3 separate regions of the Homo sapiens genome follow, and regions 1 and 2 are each linked to region 3. Evidence: promoter capture Hi-C in human tissues and cell types (Jung and others, 2019). All regions are on one chromosome and are shown on one strand. Each heading gives the region's core, a stretch centred on a gene start or on the middle of the fragment in contact. The rest is flanking DNA. Distances are from core to core; before and after follow the strand shown.

Region 1 (4,741 bases), core at 560-3,059, 76 kb after region 3:
CTTTGTGATCTCGTGCTCTGCCCATCCCTTCCTGCCCATGCACATGCACTGTCTTTAGCTCTTCAGTCAGTGTCACACAAGACCTGCTAGCCTGAGGGACACTCTGCCTTCTCTCTGCTGTGGTCATCATGTGTGCATTTCTTGTCTGACTTTGTGGGAATGCTCTTCAAAGTGGGGATCTTATTAAAATACAGATTCTGAGTCAGTAGGTCTGGGGTGGGGCCTGAGAGTCTGCATTTCTAACAAGCTCTCAGGCAATGCCCATGATGCTGGGCCAGGACCACATTTGGATGTCAAGGGAGAGTCTTATATCCACGTTTGGGAGGTGTGGGGAGAAGGCCTGCCCCATGGTAGCCTTCTAAACAGAGAAGGACCATAAGGGCTTGATGAGACAATGTATCAGAGAGGCTTGGAAACTGTAATATGTTGGGAAAATATCGGCTGTTATTATGATTTTCTATCATGTAGATGATATACTTGCTTTGGAATCAGAGAGAGTTGGGTTTACCCCCCCTACCACTGACTGAGAATTTGAGCAAGTCACTCAATCTTGTTAAGCCTCACTTTTCTTAACTATAAAATGAGAGGCTATTATTTAAACAAAGCTATATTTGCAAATATTGACTCAATACATATTTACATATTCATTTCTCTCTCTGTTGACCTAAGTGAACAAAAGCTTTACATGTGTGTATGTGAGTAACTCACTAAACATTTCTGCTAAATGCTGAGAATCTAGAACCAGAACTTGGCTAAAAATCCACTCTAAAACTGTTTAATGAAACAGCTTTGTTAAGAGTCATCTGGCTCTCTAAGGTTTGAAAAACTTCTCAGGGAAGCCAGAATGATTTATGGTTTGCTACCACAACTCTACGAAGCGAGTGGTTTCAATCAAGTTTCACTTGCACAGGTTCAGTAGAAAGCTGGGGAAAATCCTCTTTTTTTTTTTGCAAAAAAATTAAAATACTTTTTAAAAATTTATATATATATATATTTTTATTATACTTTAAGTTCTAGGGTACATGTGCACAACGTGCAGGTTTGTTACATATGTATACATGTGCCATGCTGGTGTGCTGCACTCTGGATAGCTCTGGTGATGAGAAGGATTCAAGGGCAGCAATTTTCTTTCAAGAGGATTTTCCATTATATATATATAGCATTAAGAGATATACCTAATGGAAAATCTTCTTGAAAGAAAATTGCTGCCCTTGAATCCTTCTCATCACCAGAGCTATCCAGAGACAGAACATGGAACCCATTCCAATGGGGCTGACATTTATCTTTGGCTAATATAGGTTTTCTTGTTCGTTGTCGTTGTTGTTTTGAGACAGGGTCTTGCTCTGTCACCCAGGCTAGAGTGCAGTGGTGCGATCACAGCTCACTGCAGCCTTGACCTCCCAGGCTCAAGTGATCCTCCCACATCAGCCTCCCAAGTAGCTGGGACTACAGGCATGCACCACTGTGCCCAGCTAATTTTTTGATATTTTGTAGAGATGAGGTCTCACTATGTTGCCCAGGCTGGTCTTGAATTCCTGGGCTCAAGGAATCCTCTCACTTCCTCCTCCCAAAGTGCTGGGATTACAGGCATGAGCCACGGTGCCCAGCCTAAGATGAGTTTTCTAAAGAAGTGCTAAATAGTAACAATATAAACTTCCAGCCTTGCCTTTTAATTCCAATTCACCCCAAAGATTCTTTAAGCAAGGTTGATGGATGTGTTCAGACTAGCAGGTGCAAGAAAAAAAAAACTTGAATTGCGGGAATTTGGCAGGAGCCAAGGACAGTTCTGGCACAAGAATGGCCCGGAAGTGCCCATCATTACAAGTTTACTCTCTGCCAGCATTGTCATAAGCAGTTTTTACACCATATTTTAAAATTTTAACAACACCTTGAGAGGAAGATATTATTATTACTCCCATTTACCAAAGGGGAAACTGAGTGAAAGAGAAGGCAATTAACAAATTAATTTAAAAGATGAAAAATGTAACTATCTTTTGGGTTTTTTTTTTTTTTTTTTTTTTTTGAGATTGAGTCTTGCTCTGTCACCCAGGCTGGAGTGTAGTGGCATGATCTCGGCTCACTGCAACCTCAGCCTCCTGGGTTCAAGCGATTCTCCTGCCTCAGCCGCCTAAGTAGCTGGGATTACAGGCATGCGCCACCATGCCCAGCTAATTTTTGTATTTTTAGTAAAGATGGGGTTTCACTATGTTGCCCAGGCTGGTCTCGAACTCCTGACCTCAAGTGATCCGCCTGCCTCAGCCTCCCAAAGTGCTGGGATTACAGGCGTGAGCCACTTCACCTGGCCGCAACTATCTTATTTTTAGCTACACAATGTAAAACCAAATTGTTAACCTACTTAATTGGATCCATTAATTGTTGTGGGATAGCCTCTATGGTGAATACAAGTCTTCTGTGGTATACACAAAGCTGAATATTACAGCACTATTGGTTATATTGAAAGACTCTAAACAACCCAAGTCTAAAATCAATTACTGTAGATCCAGGCAGTGGAAGGGTGTGAAGCCATGGTATGTTTTCAAAGAACTTTTAGTGACATGAAAAAGCCCTCATTATATACTATGAAATGAAGAGGGTAGGCTCTTTTACACATTCATTTATTGATCCAAACTTAGTTATCCCACAATTGCTTTTCCAGCATAGTTCTGTGAATACGGCTGGTGAATCAGGCAGGCTTGCCCTTGTAGAGCTGACTGTATGGTGGACGTGAAACTTTCCTGGAAGAAAAAGCCCCAAAATGTTAACGGTTTTCTTTTTGAAAGTGTAGGGGCTTTTAAATTTTTCGTCTTCATTTTTACATTATTTCAAAATGTTCTATATTAAGCATGTATTACTTTTTTGTAGATTCATTGAGTTATGATTAGCGCACTATAAACTACATGTTTAAAGTATGCAATTGGATAAATCTTGCTGTAGTACACACCGGATCAATCATTAGCACAATGAAGGTGGTGAACATATCCATCACCCCAAAAGTGTCCTTGGACCCATTTGTTCTTCCTTCCTCCCACCACGCCACCACCCCTCGCCACATTCAACCACCGATCTGCTTTCTGTCACTATAGTTTGGTTTGCATTTCTAGAATTTTATATAAATTGTAATACATAGCAAATACTCTTTTGTCTGGCTTCTTTCACTCAGCATCATTTTGAGATGCATTCACGTTGTCATGTGTACCAATAGTTGTTTCCTATTATTGTGGAATAGTATTCGATTACATGGCCTATACCAGTTTGTTATCCATTCATTGGTTTGTAGACATTTGGTTGCCTCTGATTTTCGGTTATTACAGACAACGCTGTTATAAACGCTCAAGTATTTGCAGGAACATATATTTCTTTCTCTCTTGGGTAAACACTCAGGAGTGAAATGGCTGGGTCATATGATAACTCTATGTTTAACTTTTTGAGGAACTGCCAAACTGTTTTCAAATGACTGTATCATTTTTACATTTCTACCAGAAGTGTATGAATTCATCGTTCCCTCTCTTAAAATTACATAAGAACTAAATGTTTACCTCCTGTTATAAAAAGAAAATCCAAAAACTTCAGAAATATAGAGTAAGAAAAGTGAACGTTCCCTTTTATTCCATCCCTTTCCTAGTTCGTCATACATATTTATCATTAAAAGTTTGGTGTGTGTTCATCTTTTCTTTGCAAGAGTCTGTGCATGTGTGTGCATGTGCACGTGTTTGCATGTGGAAGCATGTAGTGCGTGTAAGTGAGATTTTGTGAGCTCTGTTGCTCTAACTCTGGTTTCACTCACTGAACAATGAAGCTTGGAGGTCGTTCCTCATCAGTGCATGTAAACCTCAATCTTTTGAATTGTTGCTGAGTATCCTACTTCAATAAGCAGAGGGAAGAGGTGTTTTAAAATGTGGTTAGAATTCTGTTTACCCTTCCTCTGAAAGAGGCAGGTCTCTTCAACATTTTCTACTCATGTGACAATTAGAGAAGCTCCTTCTTCTCCTCAGGAAAGGCTGCCTGTGGGGAAGGATTGCATTTCTTTCGGTGGATCTGGGTCTTCTGGGAGCAGCACAGGCATGATCACCCTTCTGGAGAGTGATAGAACGGTCAGTGGAAATGTAATCGATGGCCACAAGGTGTGACAGCTCTGCCATCACATTCGGTTTATGCTTGTTTCACGTTCCTCAGAGCAGAATTGCCTTTCCAGGCCCACCATTTGTTCTGGTACTTGGTGGTGAGGAAGCTCACTTTAAGTGTAGTCATTCTGAGAAGGGCAAAAGGGCTTCAACTCTTCAACTTTCAGCTCTGGAAATGAGTAAAACTGGGAGTTTCTTTTTATCATGTTAGAAAATTTACCACATTGGCTGAATGTGGTGAGAAAACCTACTCCCTTGTTAAAACAGACAATAATGCAGCACTCACTTGGTCAGCTAAACAGTTTTTTACTGTCTCCTCATGTGTGTTTTTTTCTCTCTTATATTCTTTTAATAATTAATGATACTAGGACTACATTAAATGGTACTTATTTATCCCTCTCTCAGCAATAACCTGGGGGCTAAATCTTTTACACTTATTAATACATAAAATTAGGACTATATTGTAATAAAGTTGCATATTCTGCACTGAACATTGGCATAAATGTTTTCATGTCATTAAATATTAACCAAATATTAAATCCACATCTTAATTGTTAATGACTTCATAATATTTCAGATATGGACATACCATAATTTATAACAGTTGCCCTGTGGTTGAT
Region 2 (4,181 bases), core at 315-2,814, 120 kb after region 3:
GATGATCAAGGACTTCTTTGGACAGTTTTGTAACAGAGCAGGAGGGTTTATATGCTCCTGGAGCAAAACTTTGAGTGTACACTGTGTTATCTGACCCAGGTGAATTCAACCTGTTCTTGATTCTCTTTTCTGAAGGGGATTTAAAAGAATTCATTAACCAAATCTCCAGCCTCATATCAAGTGCTGACTCGAAGGGATGCTACATCCAGCACAGCAGCTGCTATTGGAGCTACTTCTTGGTTTATGTTAGTCCACTGTCATCTTCCACTTTTGCTCTGTTTTGCTTTGCAGGAACCATTCAATGGGATATTGTGGGGATCACTGTCAATACTCCTGGGATGTTGCCCCTGATTTTGACCAGGAGTGGGGAGGGGGTGGGATGGAGAGAGCATTTTGGAGCATTAAATAAGCCTTTTCTACCATTATGGCTCTTATCCCTCAGGTCAAGAAACCAATTTTGGGGTCTCTCAGTTAAGTGCACTCATCCCATTTATCCTCTCAGAAACAAGGGAGATCAGGGGATTGACCCACAGGCCTACTGGATCTGCCCTGAGATAGCCTTGGGTCAGAACTTTATAGATTGCCTATCTTATATGTCCCACTCTAACAAGAGGGCTGTGGTGGTGCTTTAGATCCCCTGGGTATGTCACTCAGGCCCTATGTTGAGTAGCTCTTGAAAGATGTGTATATTCTGCTTTCTCAGCATACAGTTACTCTGAAAAATGGCCATGGGGCTCTTTGGGAAAGATTTGAGACAGTGTGTATTATTTAAGATTGCTATAGTGCTGCAGGGCTCCTCCTCAGGAGACCCAGACTCTCCTTCAATCCATGGGCTCTGGAACTGAGAACTGACTAGGTCTGGTAACTATGAGAGATCAGGATTTTCCACTGTGGTGGCTGACATCAGTCTTTTACTCATCAGCTGTTTGGTTGGTTGGCTTGGTTTTATAACAGTAACTTCATTGACTGCCCATTCACCTCACCTCTAGGAGCGCCGTAATCTATTAGCCACTGGTCCTTGGCTCCCTGGTTGTTCTTCTGGCCTTACGGCCCATTAGGTTACTGTATTCATTTTATTCCTCTAATGTCTGAGTGCAGCCATTAGTTTTTTGTTCTGGAATCCTTCCTATCATAGGAGGCCCAGTTATGTGCCAGCATCTTCTGTTGTCAGTTCTAGCCAACAGAAGACAGCCACCACTGAGCTTCTCAACAATGTTAATGTCCCCTTACCAATGCAGTCTTTATTGTTTCAGTGAAGGAAATACCCCTGCCCATGGGTGGGCTCTCTCGCCTTATATCCATTCTAGCATGTCATCCCTCTGAGCCTTCTGAACCCTCCTCAGCACTCTTGTTAAGCAGTTGTGGAATCTCCACCTCGTTTTTGGCATACCATCATCCTCAAGCACCAAGGCCCATTGCAGCAGTGTATTAGGACTGGCTCCATGTGTTCTTACAAACATGCCAAATCCTGAGTCACAGAAGACAGTCTATGTCAATAAACTCTTCCTTATCCAACTTCTTTTCTACTTCCCACTAGGCCAGCATCCTCAAGATCCATAACCATACATGTTCTTCCAGTTTCTGCCAGTCCAGGTTCTGTTCTTTTGGGGGACTAATCCATTTCTTCTCAAAGCAGGATAATATTTCTCTGCATAGGGCATGCTGATATTCAGCCCTATTTATTGGTTTAGAAGTAATGAGTGGAAGTAGGGACCGATCCTGAGGAAGACCAAGGTTATCTTGCCAGTCTCCTTTCAAGAGAGGCCTTGGAATGGCTTCCAGGTGATAGGAGGCTACCCTCCTCTAGCAAGGGGGAGTGAGCCACTTCTTCTAGACCCAAGGGTTCAGAAGAATCTGGGATATCAAGGTCGTTGAGGGCATTTGCCCAAATGGGCCCCTCATATCTCAGAGTCACATTCCTTCCCAATCAGGGCCCTGACTTAAGCAAAGGAGACTTTCCGGGCATGTGAATTTGGTCTCCTTTGAATCTGCATCACTGCTGTAATCCAATCATGGGCCGGATTCTCAGTACATTCTGGCTTCTGCACATAGGAGATGTGGGTTCTTTTAAATAGAGACCTGGGGGCTTTCTAGTTGTCAGGGCATCTCTTCAGGTAATAGTTGGCTAATCAGAGACTGTCTTCTCTTCTTTCATTCCAATCCATACCCAGGTGAGAGTGTTGGTAACTAACCCAGTAGTGTGACAGGGTTTATCACCACTACACTTACTACTAGCAGTGGGATCCTGTTGTCATCTGGCTGGCATCAAGTCCAGTGTCTCATCCTGAGGCCACTTTCTAGGGCCATTTCTGGCACCAGATGTTTTATTTCAGCTCCCCCAAAAGCAAAACCCTGAGGCAGGGATCTTGGTTGAAGTGGGGAGGGGATCCCAGAAAGTGGGGTGAGGGTACGGAGGCATGAGGTAGGAAAGGGAAGAAAGGAGATAAAATGTGTGTTAATGAGCAGGTTAGCACTGTGGACCACCACGCTCAATCCCACTGAGACGTGAGGAAGCTGGGAATGTATCCACCAGGCCTTAATTTATCAAGATGAGGATTACTCCTGAGATGTTAACTCCTTGTTGTTGGACCTAGGCTGAACATGCTTCCGTAGCCAAGAAAGGGCTTCAGGTGAAGAGACACAGAGAACCTTCTGCAGGCCACATTCCAGGCTGGGATAAGGGGAATTGGGTGTGACATCAATAGCATCTCATCCCACAGTGAACTAAGAAGATAGAAGAGCAAATGCAAGGAATATTTGCATGCTTTCAATACTTACTCATCAAAGGGTCGACTCGACTTAGAAGAAATTACAAATCCTGCTTACCATTTTCAGCCCAGTATGCTCACGTGGCCAAGCCACAGCTGCCTTTAAATAGTAACAACTCTGAAAAAAAAAAGAACATCCCTGGACTGAGTGCCTGGAGCAGAGCCCGTCATTATGACTCAAGTATCACAGGTGCTCAATCCAAACACTTGTGAAATTGACTTCTGTTTCCTGGCCAAGTACTGCTTAAGCCATGAAAAACCTTAGTGGTTAGGTTGTAAAAGAAATCAGATATTACCTATAAAGTAATTTCCTAACACTAAAATTTCTCCATATAAATAACCCAAACTTCTTTAAAATCAGACATTAAAAACCTTTAATACAAAATATAATTTCCTGCCTTCTTAAGCAGTGAGTCATAAGCATAATCTTATCTTTTCCTGATGACTCAAAGTCATTATTACAAGTGTCAATTATTGTCCTGCACTGCAGTGCCCTCAGGGCTGCTGAGGTGTGGAGCTGTTTGCCCTTTTAATAAGTGATTTATAAGCACTGTTTTTTTAAACTGCTGCATCTACGTTTTATGGTTTATGCGTGTTCTTTCCTTTTAGGCTGGTAGCTAACATTGGTTTTGTTTGGTTTGCCAATCTCTTGCCATTTTCCAAGGTGGGCTTGGAAAATAAATGGAGCCATTTATTAGGATTGTACGTAGCTTCAGGATGAGGGCTTAAGGGACTCTGTGTGTGAAGAGCATAGGCTTTGTGGCATCTTTGCTGCTCCAAGACCTTTTTAGATTGCTTTATAAGAGAATGTTAGTCTTCCAGATTACCAGCTTTGTTTCAAATAGTTGGGGTTTCCAGGTAAATAATTTTGAATAAATGAGATTGTGAGCCTTTTATTTATTTCTCTTGCCTTATTGCACTGGCTAGGACCTCTAGTACAATGTTGAATAGAAAAGATAGCATCTTTGCTTCATGCCCAGTCTCAGGGAGAACACTTTAAATATTTCACCAATAAGAATAATGCTTGCAGGCTGGGCACAGTAGCTCACGCCTGTAATCCCAGCACTTTGGGAGGCCAAGATGGGCAAATTACCTGAAGTCAGGAGTTCAAGACCAGCCTGGTCAACATGGTAAAACTCCATCTCTACTAAAAATACAAAAAATTAGCCAGGCGTGGTGGTGCACGCCTGTAGTCCCAGCTACTCAGGACGCTGAGCAGGAGAATAGCTTGAACCTGGGAGGCAGACGTTGCAGTGAGCCGAGATCGCACCACTGCACTCCAGCCTGGGCAACAGAGCAAGACTGTTCTCAGAAAAAAAAAAAAAAAAAAAAAAGAATAATGCTTGCTATATTCGGTGTCAAATTAAGGAAGTTCTTTTTTATTCCTAGTTTGCTAGAAAAGCTTAAACTATA
Region 3 (4,179 bases), core at 308-2,807:
ATCCTTGCCCTTACGTCACAATTGTTAGATCTCTAAGGGTGATAGGTCAGCCAGTAGACATCCTGCCCCCCACAAGCTCTCTGGGGCACTGTATTAAGTAGGTCAGATGATGTGTATGTGTTATTGATTCACATGGGCAAAAACATATTTTTTCATCATTTAAAATATGAAACAGGTGGCTTTGCTCTTAAGAATAATGTTCAGCTCCCCATTATTGCTTGACTCGCTCTCGCCTTTTTTTGGTATCTTCCTGTTCCAGCTTTTGCTGGTCCCTTATGCTGCCATTACACATTTCCTCAAAGGACCTGTGCAAATTCATGTGTAATAATTGGTAAACTTTGATGTATAATAATTGGTAAACAGATTGGGCCTGGACAGTGCTGTGCAAATAGAGTATGAAAAATTACTTTCCCTTCTAGGCGAACTAAAAACATTCATTTCTTTATCCTCTATAATTAAAATCCTATTTTGTTTTCTGAAAATTAAAAAAAAAATCTACAACTTTGGAAGTAGTGTAAAAGTCTGATAATGATGAAGCAAATTACAATTCATACATAAAATAGAATATACTTAAATGTTTAGGAAGTATTTTTACTGATTTTGGAAAATGCAATACAGTTAAATTGCTAAGAACAGTGTAAACACAAAGTAAATATGCAAAATAAGTATTAACTATTACTATTACAACAAATAGATGTCAAAAGGATATAAAATTGTGATTCTTAACCTTTTTTGACCATAAACTCCTTTGAGAATCTCCTAAAAACTGCAGACCTTTTCTCAGAAATAATGTATATATATATACACACACACACACACACACAGACACACACGCACACACACAAACACCCCTACAATTCTGGGAGTCCATGAACCCCTTGAATCCTTCTGCCATGTATTCTGTGGGCCCTCACATAAGAGTTCATGATAAACTATGTGATTTTAACTGACCGTACTTTTAGAAACCTGGAAAAAATGATCACATTTTATTAACAGTTGGCCTCCAGCTGGTGGAATTATGGGTGACTTATTTCTTCCTTTTTTTAAAATAGTTTTCAAAGTTTCTACAGTAGTATGTTGATTTATATTGAAAAAAGAACATAAATGATAATCTGATAAAACAGCCTGTCTTATGCAAAAGAAATGAAAACAGAGATTATTCATTGAGCAAATATAGACAATAACTAGATTCTCCTTATCTCCCTGGGTGGGTCTGACTATGCCATTACTAGCAGTACCATCAGCCTGCAAGCACTAACTGTGTGCCTGGAAACATGTTCAGTAGTTTTCATGTTTCTCCAGTTTAACCCACACAGCAGCAAATGGCAGTGATGGAATTTGAACGAAGAGCAGCTGAGCTCCATAGCCTGGCATTTTGCACTGTACCCTACTACAGACAGGAATCTGAGAATACCAACAATACCTGGGGTTAGTCCTCCCTGTCTTCTTTTCAATATAAAGAGTAAAACAAATGACTCACCAGCAGAGATGCTTTGCCAGTTTGTTCCAGAGATGAGCTTGCTCATGAAGCAAGGTCTGCCTCTACTTCTGTGATGTGGTTCATGTTTCCGCTGAACATTTTTTAAGAGCCCTCAGCTGGTTACTATAAGAGACCCACCCCCTACTCCCGTCCTTCAGATCAGAATCCATATGACCAACCCGCCCCTGTGTAACGCGTGGGTCAGAGATGGATGGGTGACTGATACCCCACACTCCCTTCATTCTGCTTTGGGGCTGATTCTTCTGTCAGGGCCTGACGAGCTTTATTCGTAAACTAAAGGGGAACAATAAGGAGGTTTGGCTCTGGCCATCCACCGAAGATGGTGGCATTTGTACCTTAAAATTACTTAATTCACTAGTCAGACATCTTTTTGGAACAGTTAGGGTCTGGGCCAATGCTGAGTCCATGGTATGGGCTGGGTTCTGCGTGCATATGCAGCTCCAGCATATGTGATAGCTGTTAAGCCCCATAGCAGCCCTGCAGTGGATATTATCCTGCCTTTATAGATGAGAACACTGAGGACCATAGCCAAAATAACAAGCCCTGGTGCACACAGCTAGAAACTGGAAAATCGAAGATACACACTCAGGTATCTGTCATTACCAGACCAATCAACAGCATGATGATGGGTCTGCCAGAGGGCCTGGTGCAGCCCCACCTCCTAAGCCCACACCACTCAGGCACTCAGCAGGCAGTGCCCACCCACCCTGCGTAGGCTGGCTGGAATCATCTGGTTTCCTTGGGCTGCCCTCTGTACTCCTGGAATTCCCCAGATGTTGACTACTTTGATCTCAGTACAGTTCTAGTTGTCAGTCTCCATGATCTAACATTACTGACCCTTCTGGGAAATAACGCTGGAAGGCAGGAATTGGAGGCATGTCAGCCTGGGTCACATGCCCCAGTGCCTTGTAGTGGAGAGGGTACTAGGGAGAGGCATGGACTCGATGTCTGCTTTCCCAGAAGCAGCTGCCTTCTTGTGGAGGTGCCTGGCCTGCCTTCTCTGGCTCTGCACTCCCATTCAGGCTGCTTCTCTCCAATGCTGTTGCTCTCTCCCACCTGCTAGGCAAACCTTCTCATGTGGCTCTTCCTAAGGGCAAATGTCAAGCATTGGGAGCAGGGACCAGGAGCAGCCTCAGGATCCAGAGACTAACACTCATTTCTACCGCAAGCCTGGCCCTATGCTGGATGCTTCTATGTACAGCCATCTAATCCTAGTCACGTACAGATAGGCAAACAGAAGATTAGAGAGATTAGCCCACTTGCCCAAGAACACACATCCCTGGCAGTCACCCAGGACTGTCAGGCTGCAAAGCCAGTGCTTCCTGCCCTGCTCTGAGTATGGAGCTGTGCCAGGGGGCCCTGATAAAAGATCTGAAGACCTCTAGTAGGTTTGCAGGCCTTTTTGAATGAATTCGTTCAGACTGTCCTTTCTACCAAACTGGTACAAATGAGTGAGGTGTTCCTTATGGGCATGAACCATGAGGCCGCATAGACTACATACCGATGGACAGATGGATGTAGGGAATGGTGGACAAATGAATAAAGGAACAGACTGAGCCAAATATGCACCTGTCTTCCTGAAAGAGAACTTTCAAGGCAGGGTGGCAATTTAATGTAACCCTGCCTGACATTTAGGAATCTTTAAGCTTTGAGAGCTGAGTTTTACCCAGGGACAACCAACCATGCCATTCAAGACAGGTCCATAGGGCAGTGTTAGAATGGCCTGAGCCTTGTCAAGCACCCTTGGCCATGCTTTTCTCAGCAAGCCTTTCTACTCCATGGGGAAAAACAAGCCAGCACCTGGGGCCCTCCATGACTGTGTGTACATGTCAATATGGGGATATGTGTATTTGAGAAAGCATGGCTTGTTTATCGTGGCCATTCTTTAATAGAAACTTCTCTATAGTACAAAAGACTTTCACCTAAATTTGAGGAGCTGAGCCACTTGCAGGTTTGGGGCTAAAATTTTATTTTAATCACTTTACAAAATGCCGTTTACTATCTGCCAATTTATAGTGTTAATTGTTTTAAGGGCATTACTTTTATTTGAAACAAAACTTTGAACTTCCTAAGGGTGGGAACCCAATCATATATGTCTTAGATTTCCCCAGAAATACCTAAACATTTTCTAAATAAAATTGAGGGAAGAGTAAAAAGGAAGTGGCAGACATACCTGCTGCAGATTTATCTTGGAAGTCAGACTGTTGGCCTGCTCTCCTTACCTGAAGACCTGGCAGAGCTGTTATCAGTTCCAGGATTCAGGGATGAGACATTTACAGTTGTTGGCAAGGCATTGGTGGATGATGGGCTGTGATCCACAGAAAAGTAGCCTAACCAGCCAGGCGTGGCAGTGGGCACTTATAGTCCCAGTACTCAAGAGGCTAAGATGAGAGGATCATTGAAGCCAGGAGTTTGAGGCCAGCCTGGGCAACATAGCCGGCAGACCTGTACCCCTGCAAGTCACCAGGATGAGCTGAGAGATCATCTGGTGGGAGCAGAGCCACTATGGCTGAGAGGAATTGTTCTGGAGGAACAATTGTTCTATAAGCAGGAGAGCAGGAGAAGGAAACCGCGTACAGGGGTTGACTACCTCCAGCGGAAGAAGGTGAGTTGTAGGAGTGTCTTACCACTAGGGAATGTGTCTGAGTCATGTGGCACCAAAGTATGTTAGCAGCAGC

Evidence for each region. The method cuts DNA at HindIII sites, captures the fragments that hold promoters and counts their contacts. A contact is called where the count stands out against the background at its distance.
Region 1: a fragment that was not itself captured here is called in contact with the fragment with the promoter of CXCR6 in region 3 in 2 of the 25 tissues and cell types used here (hippocampus and liver).
Region 2: a contact is called between a fragment that was not itself captured here and the fragment with the promoter of CXCR6 in region 3, in 2 of the 25 tissues and cell types used here (adrenal gland and aorta).

The regions. Positions count from the first base shown.
Region 1 is chr3:45,864,430-45,869,170 of GRCh38, reverse strand. It overlaps LOC124909374 (a long non-coding RNA gene), which reads right to left and starts at 4,217. Exons shown (of 2, transcript XR_007095900.1): 1 at 3,916-4,217; 2 at 2,600-2,735. It also overlaps a transcript of LZTFL1 not described here. The HindIII fragment of the contact is 6,101 bases long and covers 1-4,741 here.
Region 2 is chr3:45,816,987-45,821,167 of GRCh38, reverse strand. No RefSeq gene overlaps it. Among named protein-coding and RNA genes, the nearest start is that of SLC6A20, 23 kb to the right of the region's middle. RefSeq lists an enhancer at 2,177-3,376. The HindIII fragment of the contact is 5,505 bases long and covers 1-4,181 here.
Region 3 is chr3:45,940,842-45,945,020 of GRCh38, reverse strand. CXCR6 (C-X-C motif chemokine receptor 6) reads right to left here and starts at 1,557. Exons shown (of 2, transcript NM_006564.2): 1 at 1,481-1,557. All of the region lies in intron 14 of FYCO1 (FYVE and coiled-coil domain autophagy adaptor 1), which reads left to right. The HindIII fragment of the contact is 14,146 bases long and covers 1-4,179 here.